Regions from separate parts of the Homo sapiens genome. Here region 1 is linked to region 2. The links are contacts of gene promoters, found by promoter capture Hi-C in human tissues and cell types (Jung and others, 2019). All regions are on one chromosome and are shown on one strand. The core of a region is centred on a gene start or on the middle of the fragment in contact, and the rest is flanking DNA. Distances in the headings are between cores, read along the strand shown. Region 1 overlaps SPATS2 (spermatogenesis associated serine rich 2). Region 2 holds the start of TUBA1A (tubulin alpha 1a).

The links. The method cuts DNA at HindIII sites, captures the fragments that hold promoters and counts their contacts. A contact is called where the count stands out against the background at its distance.
Region 1: a contact is called between a fragment that was not itself captured here and the fragment with the promoter of TUBA1A in region 2, in 2 of the 25 tissues and cell types used here (dorsolateral prefrontal cortex and lymphoblastoid cells).

Annotation. Positions count from the first base shown.
Region 1 is chr12:49,515,799-49,519,299 of GRCh38, reverse strand. It overlaps SPATS2 (spermatogenesis associated serine rich 2), which reads right to left. Exons shown (of 14, transcript NM_023071.4): 11 at 118-227. Among named protein-coding and RNA genes, the nearest start is that of KCNH3, 21 kb to the left of the region's middle. The HindIII fragment of the contact is 7,896 bases long and covers 1-3,501 here.
Region 2 is chr12:49,187,563-49,190,876 of GRCh38, reverse strand. It overlaps TUBA1A (tubulin alpha 1a), which reads left to right and starts at 1,797. Exons shown (of 4, transcript NM_006009.4): 1 at 1,797-1,900. The coding sequence starts at 1,898. RefSeq lists enhancers at 1,909-2,028, 1,527-2,118. The HindIII fragment of the contact is 17,236 bases long and covers 1-3,314 here.

The DNA.
Region 1 (3,501 bases), core at 982-3,481, 330 kb before region 2:
GGTTTGGGAAAGGAAGATCATGAGTTTAATATATTAGATATGGCCATGAATTATGAAAATTTCTTACTTTAGCCCCTGAGGATAAGAAGAAAGGCAGAAAGCAGAAAGAAGTTTTACCTTGATATCAGCTCTGAGCTCAACCAATTGCTGCTCTGACATTTGAACAGCCACATGAGTCATCTTCTTTAGAAGTTCAGCCTTCTTTTGTCGGCTGAGCAAAATTTCCACTGTAGAGGAAAAGTGAGTGTGAACCTTATGTTGCTGCTAAATAGGATAAAGAAGAACTAGAAATATAAGCCTTGCAGTAGGTATTTGGTCAGCCAAAGGCTTAGCTGCCTATCCACCCAGAAAATGAAAATATCAAAAGTCTGGTCTCTACCTTCCATTGGGTCTCTGAAGGCAGTTAAGTGGTAAATATTTTTTATAAATCACAAACACTCATAAATCATTGTTATTTCTCCTTCCAGTCAAAAAAATTTTATCAAGATGCATATAAATTAAAAAGGAAATATGTACACATAATAAAAAATATTCATCTAGAGTAAGTTGGGTATAAAATGAAAAGAGCATCTCTCTTATTTCTGATTTTGTGGTCTCCTCTCCAGGGGAAACGACTGTTCACCATTTCTTACGTACACATCCAAATATTGTGTATGTACATACAACATGCATACATATGTAGCTCTCTTTTTTCCCTTCTCACAAATGGAAGTATATCATACACATGGTCTTTCTTTTACCTTAGCTATTTTTACTTAATATATCTTTAAATTTATTCCCTATTAATACATCTGGATCACCTTCATTCTGTTTAACAGCCACCCAGTATGTGGATATACCACAATTATTTACCGAGTTCCCTAGTGATGGGTATTTAGATTGTTACACCCTTTTAAGAACCACCTTCTCTGGCATGCTTTCTGATATATAACTTGGATATGGTCATGGCAGAGAACATACAATAAAAATCTCCCAGAGAGACAGGGGCTACAGTGGAAACAAAACCAAAGAAATCCTCCCAGGAAGCAGATAAACCACCCAACGAATGTTCTCTACTACCAGGGAAGGGACTCTGCTATTCCTTCCCATCCAGCAAGATTTGATCATTGCTTTTCCAAGTGGGAATTTTTACTATAATTATCCTTTTCTTTCTCCAACTATGTAATATGGGAGAAGGGGGCATTTAGCCTTTCTTTTAATTTATGAGACCCCATCCTTGGAAGATCTGAAATCACTCTGAAGACCTGGCCTTTCAGCTGAATATTAACTAACTAGATGAGACTTTGGAGGTATTGCTATTGAGGAGGTGGTGAACATATTCTCATTTTGGAAAAAAGAGGGATACTGGGTAGTGGAGGACTGTAGCAAAGACCATTAGCTGATGGAACACAGTCTTTCCAACTACATTCAGGAACATTCAGGGCTATCAGAAATCCAATGTTGTTGGGTACCAACATAATTGGGTAAAAAAAAAATCTATATTTTCTGGCTTTGCTACAGATGAAACGGCCATGTGATATAGTTTCCCCATTGAGATATAAGCAGAACTCAAAGGGCAGGCTTTACAGGAAAGCGTTTTAAGGGAGTCTTAGCATGTAACGTTTTACTCCTTCTCGACTGGAGCCTAGGGAGTTGTCTTTTGACCATAAGCATACTCTCAGAATGGCTGGGCAGAAGAACAGAAGATCCTGGGTCCCTAATGTCATCTGGGAAATGTCCTGCCAGCCCTGGGTTGCTTACCTCTGTACTTTTCATTTTCTGAGAAAAAAGGACACTCACATTTATTTAGGCCACTCTGTTCCATGTAGTCAAACTCAATCCCTAACTGATATACATAGAATCCTGTAACACACTGAGGAATTAGCCAAATTCACGTCAGAAAAAAACAGAAGTTTTAAAGAGTTACACCAGGTATTACAGAGAGCTGGATGTATTTAGCAAGTTTACTCAGCCCAACTGCCACAGAGATGCACACATGGGCTGCCTAGACCCAAGTCACACTAATCAATCAGGGCCCACTTTCTCAGGAGTCAGGAGCATGCCTACAAAAGTTTCTTAACGCCAAAGCCCAACAGTTACAAATGATCTATTGGTTTAGGTCCCAAGATAAAACCTATTTGCCATTTGTATCAACTTCAGTTTCTCTCAGCTCTAGCATTCAGTGATTCTATGACAAAATTATAGCTCTCAAAATGGCAAAAATGAGGTGAATAAAAAGCTTTCTACACGTAACAGATAACTCATAGGACCTAATTATACAACACTGGAAAAGATTGAAATACTACAAACCTATCAGTTACTTAATAAAATTATAATATGTAAAAAACAAAAAGCAACTCTTGATAGCACTGGTAAATGAGTAATTACTCTTGATAGCATTGGTAAATGAGTAATATCATTGAGAACCAGGATTTTCAGGGAGAAAAGAGCTAAAGATATAAAACTGATGAAGTTAAGTAAAACTTTGAGCTCTGAATTTGATAAAATAAGATTGGCCACAAATTGATAATTGGTTGAAGCTGAGTGATGGGAATTTGTTACATTAGCCTCGCTATCTGAAATTTTCTTTTCTTTTCTTTTTTTTTTTTTAGTTTTGAGATGGAGTCTTGCTCTGTCGCTAGGCTGGAGTGCAGTGGCGCAATCTCGGCTCACTGCAACCTCTGCCCCCTGGGTTCAAGTGATTCTCCTGCCTCAGCCTCCCGAGTAGCTGGGACTACAGGCGCATGCCACCATGCCCAGCTAATTTTTGTATTTTTAGTAGAGACAGGGTTTCACCATGTTGGCCAGGATGGTCTTGATCTCTTGACCTCGTGATCAGCCCGCCTCGGCCTCCCAGAGTGCTGGGATTACAGGCGTGACCCACTGCACCCGGCCAAAATTTTCTATTAATATAAAAGATGTATTAATATTCTTAAAAGCACCTTCTTTTTTTTTAATTTCAAGACAGGGTCTTGCTCTATCGCCCAGGCTGGAGTACAGTGGTGCAATCACAGCTCACTGCAGCCTCGACCTCCTGGGCTCAAGTGATCCTTCCACCTCAGCCTCTCAACTAACTAGGACTACATGTAGCACATGACCCCATGCCTGATTTATATATATATATATATATATATATATATATATATATATATATTTTTTTTTTTTTTTTTTTTTTTTTTTTTGAGATGGAGTCTTGCTCTGTTGCCAGGCTGGAGTGCAGTGGCGCAATCTCGGCTCACTGCAACCTCTGCCCCCTGGGTTCAAGTGATTCTCCTGCCTCAGCCTCCCGAGTAGCTGGGACTACAGGCGTGTGCCACCATGCCCAGCTAATTTTTGTATTTTTAGTAGAGACGGGGTTTTATCATGTTGGCCAGGATGGCCTCGATCTCCTGACCTCGTGATCTGCCCGCCTCAGCCTCCCAAAGTGCTGGAATTACAGGCATGAGCCACTGCGCCCAGCCTTATTTCTTATTTTTTGTAGAGACGAGGTTTCACTATGTTGCCTAGGCTGGTCTCAAACTC
Region 2 (3,314 bases), core at 548-3,047:
AGAAGCATTCAAATACCTAATCCTCCTGTCTCTTCTGAAATATACTTTTTTTTTTTTTTTGCTAAAGAAGTGGAGATAAGATGATGTTGAGGATTATTTTTTCCTAGGAAATATACAATAAGTAGATAAAATGATTTTTGCATTTTGGATATTATTTTTTTTCCAGAGAATATTACTGAAGCAAAATTGATCAAGTAAAGCAGAACTGTGGATGGCAGGCTAGAAAAATCTGTGGTCGCCATTGTCACACCACAACCTGCAGCAGCTGTATTCTCAAGTCCCTCCCTCCCACGCCCTTCTTAGCCTGCCAGCCTAGCAGGAATGAATGGGTTCCGCAGAGCACTGTGTGAGTAGTGCTGCAGACCCTGAAAATTTGTCTCTGAAAACCAAAAGGAAAAATTATTTGTAAAAAATAAATTTTCAACTTTAGTGGCCAAACTTATTTACCTCTGAAATTTCATCACCAACATCCAGTGGTACGAAGTCCAGTGACTTACTCCGGATCGTTGCTGAGAATGGAGGCTTCCTAAATATCAAGATAATTTTACTCCAATTTATTTCCTAGGGGTGAAAGCAAAGCCTTTTTGTCCCAAGGGACAACTGAGCAACCACCAGAGTCTCTAGCTGAACAGCAAGGGTGTGAGGCCGGCTAAAATTCCCACAGTTAGAAGCCCACTCGCAGGAGGATATTTACCAAATTGACATAAGAACTACATAAAAAGGAAATGCGTTTATTGAGCTGATGTTTCACAGTTGTCTGTGGATGGAGGCGACATTGCAAAATTCTTTTTACATTATATTATTCTCTTCTTCTTTTTAATTTGGTGTATTGGTTATTACTATTATTTTGCTTGTTACTTTCCAGACAAAAGTCCAATTCAGATATGTAACTGCACACATGTAGTACTAACTTCTGAGCTCAATTATTTCTCCTTGTATTTTCCCAATTTTCTATCAGGAAAGATGATTCATTCCAAAGGACAATGTACCATACAAAATGTGTTACATAGACTTCTCATAAAAGAATACCTCTAGTAAACCATTATAACTACTCTACGTTCACTTGCTCTTGATTATTGCCATGTTAGAACTATTTGTTCGCTTCTTTATTTAATATGGTTATTCTTTCCATCTTCCAGTTTTGTTTAGCTATTCGGGTGTGCGTGTGCCTGCAGAAGAAGCTCTGAAAATAAGTTAGTTGAACCTGAGAAACCATTTGGAATGACCGTATGGCTAAATCTTTTTTTAAATTAAAAAAATCACATATACCCAGGCCATTTCGAGCATCATGCCGATTTTCCCTCCCACTTTACGTTTAAAGCAATTAGAGATGTTGAACCCTAACAAAATGTAGTCGAGTTTAATATACTACGAGGGAGGGGCTGGCAGTCATTTTCCTTTAAATATTTAATCTAAACATAAATTGTTATTAAGGGTAGGGGGAAAAAACCTCACATAGATAATTTTAACTGCAGTTTGAGGTTTAAGCAACAGAAAGTCTTCTAACCCCAGTCCCCTTTCTTCTCCTTCCGCCCCTCCCCAACCCCGCCCCATAATGGATGCTCGGCCGACTGCTTCTGCACGGTCTCTTTGTCTAAAGGATGCAAACAGTCTACGGATGCTAGAGAAAAAGGGGTGGGGGAGAGATTACCTCATCCCACGTCGCTTGCACCAATCACCAGTCTCCTGTCATGGCTTCTCTGGGCAGATTGGGGGTCTGGACCAACAGGAAAAGGCCCCGGCCCATCCCCATGGTGACCGAGTTGTATATAGGGAGCCGCATCCGCCTATGTGCCGCAGGTTCTCTTACATCGACCGCCTAAGAGTCGCGCTGTAAGAAGCAACAACCTCTCCTCTTCGTCTCCGCCATCAGCTCGGCAGTCGCGAAGCAGCAACCATGGTGAGAATCGGCTTCGGCTCTTTGTGGCCGTTGGGTGGAGTCAGCGCCCCCAGGCTCTACTTGGAAAACCTTTAAGCTCTTTTCTTTCGTAAGCTCTCTGGGCGAGGGTGGTGGTATGTTTTGTGAGGTTTAGCTTAGCCCCAAATCCTCAAGCCCCGCCGCCGCCGCAGTGCGGGTGCAGGAACCGGGCCAGTACTGCGCCCAGGGCGCAGCAGAGCGCTGGGGAGGAACAAAGGCGGCGCCTAGGCGCCTGTGTTATCCGAGAGACTTTCGGGGGCCGCGGGCAGCCCGTCTGCCGCGACCGAGGGGTCTGGGGCGTCCCGGCTGGGCCCCGTGTCTGTGCGCACGGTTTCGCTGATGCTGAGGGGCCACTTTCTGTCTCGCGTTGTTCTCTGGGGACCGGGAGAGGAGGAGGCACCCAAAAAGAGCGGGGGCGTTGGGCGAGCTGGGGGACGTGGGAGGGGGAACGGGAACAAAGCGCAGCCTAGGGTTAGCGTGGGAAGACCCTCCGCGGTCTTTGGCGTTTTGGAAAGATACCCACACATTCCCGGGAAAACATGGTGAGTTTCTGCCGGAGCCCCCGGCAGCGGGTGTCAGGGCGGCGCAGGGGCGGGGTTGTTTGTTTCTGGCTTCTATGGCGTTGGAGCCACTGGGCGGGGTTCGCCCTCACTGAACCTCTTCTGTCAGGAGCTGACTGAAAAAAAAACAAAAAAACCTTTCATCATTGCGGAACTGTAGGCTCCAAAAGGGTTTTCTTCACTATTATAAGTTAGATGACTTTTTTTTTTCTTGAGCAAAATCATAATTCACTTCACAAGCTCTTTAATGTCTGGTCTGGGGACGCCCTGCCCTGACCGACTGAAGTGTGTGTGTGTGTGTGTGTGTGTGTGTGTGTGTGTCTGTGGGACGCCCTGCCCTGACCGACTGAAGTGTGTGTGTGTGTGTGTGTGTGTCTGTCTGTCTGTCTGGACTGCACGTTCAGCGAGGGAGAAAGCCCACTTTGTGAGCCCCAGGGTACCCTGATGGTCAGGACCCAGGGAAACGCCCTTCCCCGCCGCCCCCCCGCCCCGCCCCCACCACATCAGCGAATAGACAATGAAAGTGGTAGCCCTAAAGACCACAGAGAAGAAAACCTCTATTGGATGCAAAGAATATGAATATTATGTGATGGGTAGAGAATCTCAGGATGAAAATACTATTTTGTTGTTTTAAATAAATATTTCATTATCCTTCCACTGGGCTTTTATTCTTTGGTACCTTTTCATGTGATGCTTGTTTCTAACTTAGGAACTTTTGTGTGTGTGTGTGTTAAGATACGGATAATTTTTCAGCTTTTACAGTGGAGAAGATCTGGAAAAACCTTTTTTTTTAAAAAAAAAAGTAATGAAATTGCTACAGACAAAGAAGAATTATA